Regions from separate parts of the Homo sapiens genome. Here region 2 is linked to region 1. The links are contacts of gene promoters, found by promoter capture Hi-C in blood cells and fetal thymus (Javierre and others, 2016). All regions are on one chromosome and are shown on one strand. Each heading gives the region's core, a stretch centred on a gene start or on the middle of the fragment in contact. The rest is flanking DNA. Distances are from core to core; before and after follow the strand shown.

Region 1 (4,578 bases), core at 737-3,236:
TTGAGCTAAAAGGAGTCATAAAGGCTCCTCAAGAACTTTCAAACACCAGCCTGGGAAATTTGAAAGGAAAGCAAAAGCATCAGAGGCAGCTCATCAATTTGGGATGAAGAACTATGCCTAAAAGGAAAAAAAAAATTTGAACTGAGAAATTTAAGGAGGACGGCTGGAAGACTCTTTTTCTTCTCTTATCTGGCGAATACCTAAAAAACCTGTATCACTTGTTTCTGGAATTCTCTGATCCTCACTAGACAGTGTGCTATGCCCTCATTACATTCTGCCCTATTGCCGTTATTGCTATTGCTTATTTAAGTTGCTAAGGGCAGGGGCTTTACATCACAACTATATCCCAGGGCCTAGAACACAAATAGGCATCTTAAACCTGTGTTCTGAATGAATGGAAGTGGTAGGGACAGGATACAGCATCAGCAGTTCACTGACTCTAGATATGAAATCAGTGCCCCAAGTATTCTTCCCATCATATCTCATGTCAAGAGCAAGACGACAAAGTCACAGAAGCCACAGGAAAATAAAATTTCCCCAGAAAGGGAGCCAAGTTGGCCAATGGCAACAGTACTCTTTCCTTGGCACAAGGGGGCGCCTGCTGCTTACTCCATCGCCAGGAGGCCTGGAGGAAGGGAGGGGCCCCCAATTCCACACCGGTTGGCTCACGAAAATTCGGTTCAAAGGCAAGCTTCTGAAAGCCCCAGACAGTAACGATAGTTTGTGAATCTAAACGTTTCCAACGTATGACTCGCTGAATCGAGAGAAATCACGGAAATGGGCATACTCAACCTCACGCGGCTACTCCTTCCCTATCCTAGGGCGAATTCACTCTTTTTTCCTCTTCCTTGGCTTCCCACGCGCATGCAGAAGAGAAGCTGGGATCAGAAAAGCACCTAACCCACCTCTGCCACTTGACCATGCTTGCATTCTTCCTTTCCTCTCTCGAGTCAAGCTCTAGCCTCAGCGACTACAGATGTGTGTAGCCCACACTTTGCTTACAGGTAAACCAAGTAAAAACAAAGCTAGTCAATTCTCCCTCTCAGCTAATTGCCCACCTCACTTCCCAACAACCCCTTTGCCAAATCACAGACTCTTAACTGGCAGGACACTTACAGATCAACTAGTTTCACTCTTCAAAAATTTTCCCGTGAGATAAATAGGCTCCAGAGATCTCATCAGACACTGTGAGGCTAGTATAATTACCATCGCCATTTTATGGATATGGAAACTGAGGCTCACTGGGGTCAAGTGACGTACCCAGGGCTACTTAAAGAGGCTGTCATGTTTTCTGCTTCTTAAACCTCACGGTACCAGCCCGCATCCCTCGCCAAAGGGTACGCGCCCTTTCCGAGCCAGGATTATGACCCAGGTCACCCAAACGCCTAGCCCAGTACTTCCATGCCGCAGCCTGCCCTTGCTAGGTATGCTTAGGGTAGTTGGGCCCTATCTGAGAATCTGGGACATCCTGTTGAACGGCAGCTCTGGACCCTCTGGGTAAGACTAACACCCCCTGCGCAGGCTGGAGAAGTCGCTCTGACCCAGGGTCCTCAGAGCCAAAGGCCTCGTGGGGGCTGCCTTCTGTCAGCCCAGCCGTGTCCGCAACCCGTTTCTGGCCGGCTCCTTTTGGACACAGTCCCTTCTGGGTACTAATCATCCACGCTCACCCCAGAGGGGCCACGGCCCAAGGACCACTCCCGAGGGAGCCTGCAGAGCCCCACCAGGCCACAGGGCCGGAAGCAGACGAGGGCGGGAGGCTGGAAAGGAAGAGGCGGCGCCCGAGGCTGCTATGGCGGAGGGGCGGGGCTCCCCGCTTCTCCGGGCGTCTGTCTCATTTCTACCGGCTTCCATTTGACAGCTTCCCTCCCGCCAGAACTCCAGGGCTCCCAAGCTGGCGCGGGGTCCTCAGCCCCTGCCCGTCCCGACCTCCCCGGCGGGGACCGAACCTCAGCTCCTCCATCCGGGGCCCACGCGGCCCGCGCCTGCGCGCTGGCTCCGCCGACGGCGTCCCCGCCCCGCTCCTGCCCGGACTTGGAGCAGCCCCGCCTCCCTGCGCGGCGGCCATGTTGACTCCGGGCGAGCGGGATGGGGGTCGCCGCTCGGCGCCTCGCCTCGTAGCACCTTCCCACCTTGGTGACACCTGAAGAGTTCTCTCGCACTTCGCTCTCCTTCAAGGCCCCCCGCCACCCCGCCTTCAAATAGTGAGCGGAGGCTGCTGTCTCAGAGTCAGTGCTCTTGCCCCAGCTCCCGCTGACGTTCACTGAGTTCCCGGTGTGGGCCGAGGCTCTTGTAGTCGGAGGCTGACCCGCAGCCTCTTCACAGAAACCAGAGCCGCGCTCTTCCTGCTGTCAGGCAACAACAGCTCAGCACAGGGCCTGACACACAATAGATGTCCTCTGAATAGCCAAAGAAAAACATTCTTGGGGTTTCTGTGGCCGGCAGCGGCACCCTGCGTCCTGGGTGTGAAGAAAGTGGGGGATCCCCCTGATTTTCCCCTCCTCTATCTACCAGAGACCTTCTGTCCTACTTTAGTCCTCAGCCCCACCTCAGGTGGCTAATGAGGATGGTGAAGAAAACCTCAGAGAACACCCTCCAGGGCTCCTTTCACCTCCCTCACCCAAGCAGTTTCTCTCATAGGAAGTGGGGCCAAAAAAAGAAGAAAAAAAAAGAGGCGAACTCAACAAAACCGTCTATTGGGGGGAGCGGCCAGTTTGTACCCTTGTAACGGAAACTGTTAGAACAACTTTGCACCCTCCTTAAAGGAAACAGATGATAAATCCTTCTCCGTTGGTGGATTTCTTGTTTCTCAGGATTCCAAAGCCTTATGTGGTTTCAGTTATCTGCCCTCCAAACGAAGCCAGGGGCCGGGTTAGCCTCTGGCCACAGCCTGGCTCAGGGAGGGGTTTATCTTCTGCAACGGCTACTCATGTGGGTGGGAACAAAGAGATGGTTGCTACCTCTCCAGGCGAAGACCAGCCCACATCAGTCTGTGGGGGCCTGGGACTGTATCTCTTGACTCTGTAACTCATTTCAGGCCCTGAGACCTAAATTGCCTTCAGATATCTGTTGTGTGCAAGGTGGAGAAAAGGCAAATCATATTTAGTCGTTGTGTGTTGGAGAAGGGGGAAAAAATGGAGTTTCATGGCCCTTCCCCCAGGTTTTTCAGTGCCACGCACTTGTTCTCAGCTCCAGAGGCCTGTGAGTAACGTGGCAAAGCCTGGGGACACACTTGTGACTGGGGCCTAAGGCTGTGACTTGAATCTCTAGAAGTCCACCATGAGGCTCCAAGCAGCACTCTCTCTGCAAAGACAAAACTGAGAAATGAACTGTCCTTGCTCTGTAAATTCACAAGGGGAAAAAAGACATGCATTCTCAGGGTTCCCTCTGTCCACATCAAATTCTCTCAAAAATCTATTTGTAAAAAGGCCAGGGGTCTCTCAAGACAAGTCAGAATGTTTTTTAAAAGCTCAGCTGTCACCCTGTAGAGGTAGAACTTTATCCAGATTTTCAGCTGTACTTTCCTGCAATTTCTCTTTTCCTTCTCTGCTACCCAACCCCCTCCTCTTCCGCTCTGTTTCCTGTTTCATTTTCTGACTTCTGCTCTGACAGGAAAACAAGGAAGCTGAATCTTGTGCTCTCAAAGCCCTGACTCCCTGGTTTCAGATTGGAAGAAGGCTAGGTGGGATAGGAGGGGATTCTGGGACTCCAAGGCTTTGAGTAGTGACGGAGGCAGCCTCTCAGTGTTCTTGTAGAGTCTGCAGCTAAGATGGAGCCTGCATCTACCCAGGGAGCCAGCTGAGCTACCAGAACTGTGGAAAGCAAGTGAGAAAGAGCCATATCCCAGGCTCCAGAAAGACTCCACACTTCCCAGCCATTTCCATTAAGAAGCACATATCCCACATCACCAAGAAACAATATCACATACAAATCCCTAACCAGAACAATGCAAGCAATGCATTACTATTCTAGAAGCTTAGGATTTAAGAGGGTTACATCATTTCTGTTCTTTGAACTTGCCTGGCTCTGCTCTTGCTATTTTCCCTGCTTGAAGCACTCTACTTCCAGACCACCCTTTGGCTAGCCCATTATGTTTGGGTCTCCGGAGAGAAGTCACCTCCTTAGAGAGGCTTTCCCTGTACTATCCCATCAGTCTGTTCTGTTTTTTTTTTTTTTTTTTTTTTTTTTTAAAGATGAGGTCTCACTATATTGCCAAGGCTAGTCTGGAACTCCTAGGCTCAAAGGATCCACCCACCTTGGCCTCCCAAAATGCTGGGATTACAGGTGTGAGCCACTGCGCCCGGCCTCTGTTTTCTTCATAGCACTTAACACTATCTGCTTGTCCTGTCCATGAATTTTACTTGTTTCAATGTCTGTTTCCCTATTCTAGAATGTAAGCTTCTGAGTGTAATGGAGGAGCAAGGGCTTTGTTCACCAATGTATTTCCAGTTAGAACAGTGCCTTGCACACTGTGTGTCTTCAATAAAGATCTGGTCAATAAATCAATTTCTTTAATCCTATACCTATATTTTATGGATGAGGGAGCTAAGGATCACAAAGGGTAAGTGACTGGCAAGAAGT
Region 2 (4,578 bases), core at 927-3,426, 110 kb after region 1:
CTTACTGAATATTCTAAACTTTTACTTTGTTTTTTTTTTTTTTTTTTTTTTGAGACAGGGTTTCACTCTGTTGCCTAGGCTGGAGTGCAATGGCACAATCTTGGCTCACTGCAACCTCTGCCTCCCGAGTTCAAGTGATTCTCCTGCCTCAGCCTCCTGAGTAGCTGGGACTACAGGCAGGTGCCACCGCGCCCAACTAATTTTTTTGTATTTTTAGTAGAGACGGGGTTTCACCATGTTGGCCAGGCTGGTCTCAAGCTCCTGATCTCAAGTGATCCACCTGCCTCGGCCTCCCAAAGTGCTGGGGTTACAGGCATGAGCCACTGCACACAGCCTAAGCTTTTACTTTGAATCACTTTATTTATTTATTTATTTATTTAGAGACAGACTCTTGCTCTGTTGCCCAGGCTGGAGTGCAGTGCCATGATCTCAGCTCACTGCAACCTCTACCTCCCAGGTTCAAGTGATTCTCTTGCCACCGCCTCCTGAGGAGCTGGGATTATAGACGCACACCACCACGCCTGGCTAAATTTTGCATTTTGAGTCGAGATGGGGTTTCCCCATGTTGGCCAGGCTCGTCTTGACCTCAGGTGATCCACCTGCCTTAGCCTCCCAAAGTGCTGGGATTACAGCTGGGCCCTTTTTTTTATTTTTATTTTTATTTTTTTTTTGAGACAGGGTCTCACTCTGTTGCCCGAGCTGGAGTGCAGTGACATGATATTGGCTCACTGTAGCCTCAACATCCTGGGTTCAAGTGCTCCTACCACCCCAGCCTCTGGAGCAGCTGGAACTACAGGCACACATCACCATGCCTGACTAATTTTTGTATGTTTTGTAGAGACAGGGTTTTGCCATGTTGCCCAAGCTGGTCTTGAACTCCTGACCTCAAGTGATCTGCTTGCCTCACCCTCTCAATGTGTTGGGATTACAGGCATGAGCCACTGCACCCACACATAGGTGTGTGTTGTCTTTTATTTGGATTGGTTCCAAATAATACATCGCTTCCAAATGATACAGGCTGGATGTGATGGCTCATGCCTGCAATCCCAGCACTTTGGGAGGCCGAGGTGGGCAGATCACCTTAGATCAGGAGTTCAAGACCAGCCTGGCTAACATGAAGAAACCCTATCTCTACTAAAAATACAAAAATTAGCCGGGCGTGGTCATGGGCCCCTGTAATCCCACCTACTTGGGAGGCTCAGGCAGGAGAATCATTTGAACCTGGAAGGCAGAGGTTGCAGTGAGCCCAGATCCTGCCACTGCACTCCAGCCTGGGTAACAGAGCAAGATGCCATCTCAACAAAAGAAAAAAATTATATTCCATATAGATATTACTAGAGGTCTAAACGACAGTGATGTCTTCAAATGAAAGAAGAAAAAATATCTTAGGGAAGCATCTCTTACAGAACCAAAATTTGAAGATTTGGGAGATTTAGAAGATTTAAAAGAAAATATGGAGTAATATAAACATGAAAACGAAAGTGTGGTAGATCCTTCATCTCACACAAATTTTGCCACATTGATAGATGCTATCTTGGGCCAGGCATGGTGGCTCGTGCCTATAATCCCAGCAATTTGGGAGGCCAAGGCAGGGGGATTGCTTGAGGCCAAGAGTTTGAGACCAGCCTGGGCAACATAGCCAGACTTAATCTCCACAGTAAAAAAATTTGCCCAGCATGGTGGTTCATGCCTGCAGAACCAGCTACTGGGGAGACTGAGGCAGAACTGCTTGAGCCCAGGAGTTCGAGGTTACAGTGAGCTATGATTGCACCATTGCACTCCAGCCTGAGTGACAGAGCAAGACCCTGTCTCAAATAATAATAATAATAATAATAATAGAAGCTATCTCACAAGTGACTATTATGTGTGTGCTATATAGTCTCTAATACTCACAAAAATCCAATAAGAGGCATTATTATGTCCTATATAAGCAAAGAAACTGAGGCTCATATAGATTATGTAATTTAAGGTTACAATACTGGTAAATGATGGAGTCAGGATTCAAACTCAGCTCTCTTATAAATTCTGAATTCTGAGGTTTTCAATAAAAATGTGCAATAAATCCAATAATGTTAGAAATGTACTTTTTCAAGGTACTAATATTAACTGTTAGTAGAAGCATCTGTGTGTGTGTGTGTGTGTGTGTGTGTGTGTGTGTGTGTGTGTGTACTGATCCCAATCAAAGAATATAATTTCTTTGGGTCTCTTAGAGCTTCTCATTTCTGAGTGTGATCCTAGGATTAGCAGTTTAAACCTCACCTTGGAGCATCTTAGAAATGCACAATCTCAGGCCCCACTTCAGACCTTCTGAAACAGAATCTGCATTTTGACAATATTCCAGGTTATTTTTCTGCAAATTAAAGTTTGAAGCCTGGCCAGGTGTGATGGCTCATGCTTGTAATTCCAGTGCTTTTGGAGGTCAAGGCAGAAGGATTGCTTGAGGCCAGGAGTTTAAGACTACTCTGGCCAACAGTTATATAGAGACCTGGTCTCTAAAATAAAATAGTTTGAGAGGCACGGTCTTTTTTTTTTTTTTTTTTGAGACAGAGTCTCACTCTGTCACCAGGCTGGAGTGCAATTGTGTGATCTCTGTTCGCTGCAACCTCTGCCTCCCGGGTTCACGCCATTCTCCTGCCTCAGCCTTCCAAGTAGCTGGGATCACAGGTGCCCGCCACCACGCCCAACTAATTTTTTGTATTTTTAGTAGAGACGGGGTTTCACCGTATTAGCCAGGATGGTCTCAATCTCCTGACCTCGTGATCTGCCCACCTCGGCCTCCCAAAGGGCTGGGATTACAGGCGTGGGCCATGGCGCCCGGCTGAGAGGCACTGTCTCAAGGATGGGTGGTTCCCTTCCAGTTACTAAGGAGGCTAAGGTGGGAGATCCCTTGATTCCAGGAGGTAAAAGCTATAGTAAGCCTAGAATAAAAAAGCGAGACCCTGTCTCAAAAAAAAAAAAAAAGATGGGTGGTTCCACGAAGAGGGATGCCTCTTACTCCCATTGTGGCCATCCACATTCATAGGACCAGGGAGGGGAAAGATGGTAAGAATGCACTCACATTATAACCTTTACTGTCTGATTTTTAAATAAATGTTCATCAGTCATTTTTTATGACAGCTTTGAAATATAATTACAATTCACCCATCAAATTGTACAATTCAATGGTTTCAGCATATTCAGAGTTATGCAACCATCACCACAATCAATTTTAGAACATCTCATCATCCTGAAAAGAAACTCCATACCCTTTAGCCTCCTCTCCCCATTCTCCCCAGCTTCAAGCCCTAGGCAACCATTAATCTACTTTCTGTACGCCAGGGGTGATGGCTTACACCTGTAATCCCAGCACTTTGGGAGGCCGAGGTGGGCAGATCACCTGAAGTCAGAAGTTTGAGACTAGCCCGGCCAACATGGTGAAACCCCATCTCTACTGAAAATACAAAAATTAGCCAGGTCTAGTGGCAGGCACCTGTAATCTCGATTACTTGGGAGGTTGAGGCAGGAGAATTGCACGAACCCAAGAGGTAGAGGTTGCAATGGGCAGAGATCGCAAGACTGCACTCCAGCGTGGGTAACAGAGTAAGATTCCATCTCAAAAAAAAAAAAAAAAAAAAGAAAAGAAAAGAAAGAAAAATATCTACTTTCCATTTCTACAGATTTGTGTATTCATGGACATTTTTTAAAAATGGAGTCATATAATATGCAGTCTTTTGTGACTGGTTTCTTTCATTTAGCATACTGTTTTCAAGTTTCATCCATGTTGTTCACCTGTCTCAATCCTTTCTCATAAGTGGTAGCATTCTTCCAACAGATGTGTGGGTGCCAGACAGCAATGTGACCCTCTCACCCACTCCTCCCAGTGGAGTTCCTGACTACCGTCGTTCCCCTACGAGAAGCCTTTCTCCTCCCGTTACTGACTACTCTAGTAAGGAGGACTTTAGCAGAGTTCTTTTTTTCCATTTTCTCCCTGGGACTTAGCAGCTCAAGTGCAGCTGGCCCTTGGCCAAGCTTCCTCTCCAAGACACCTGCAGGTGCTACCAGTGCTGCCACCTTATGCCCATTTCTTGAAGTAGTGGACACTGGATCAGGCACTGTCTTCCTCCCTGAGAGCCCTGCTCTTTGCTGTGTTCACAATCAAGGTTGTGACTCATGACAGAGTGTGACCAGGAGAGGTCGAGGGTGTGCTGTGTGGGAACTCATGCCTGGTACCTTGAAACAACCAAGAGGCAGAGAAAGAAGCAAGCGCAAATGCACATGGAGCTCAAGAGGAGCGTGATTTTAAATCTCTCTTCCTGATTATCTTGGCTGTTTCTTCAGCTTCCACTTTTCTTCCTCTCTTCAGTTCACTTTCATTTCCCTATGTTACTCCTCAAAGAATAGGGAACCTACACGTCTCTCACTGTTCATTTCCACCTGGATTGTTTTCTCTTGTCACGTCAAGGGGTACAACTGTATACTTAGACATTTGGGTATGCTTAAGTTACTTCTATAAAAAAGAATCAGTCTAAACATTCTGCCCTGCTGAATGGCAAAACAAGGAAAAGGTTTTCTGTTTTCCAAAAAAATAAAGATGTTCTT

The links. Contacts are between HindIII fragments. The CHiCAGO score rates a contact against its expected background, and 5 or more counts as called.
Region 2: a fragment that was not itself captured here is called in contact with the fragment with the promoter of PIGV in region 1 in 14 of 17 cell types (endothelial precursors, naive CD4 T cells, total CD8 T cells and 11 more); the score reaches 22.1 in endothelial precursors.

The regions. Positions count from the first base shown.
Region 1 is chr1:26,785,358-26,789,935 of GRCh38, reverse strand. PIGV (phosphatidylinositol glycan anchor biosynthesis class V) reads right to left here and starts at 1,986. Exons shown (of 4, transcript NM_017837.4): 1 at 1,668-1,986. RefSeq lists enhancers at 410-539, 1,347-1,546, 1,234-2,060, 2,107-2,546, 3,067-3,216 and a silencer at 1,847-2,056. The HindIII fragment of the contact is 3,281 bases long and covers 694-3,974 here.
Region 2 is chr1:26,677,196-26,681,773 of GRCh38, reverse strand. No RefSeq gene overlaps it. Among named protein-coding and RNA genes, the nearest start is that of ARID1A, 17 kb to the left of the region's middle. RefSeq lists an enhancer at 3,784-3,833. The HindIII fragment of the contact is 3,669 bases long and covers 342-4,010 here.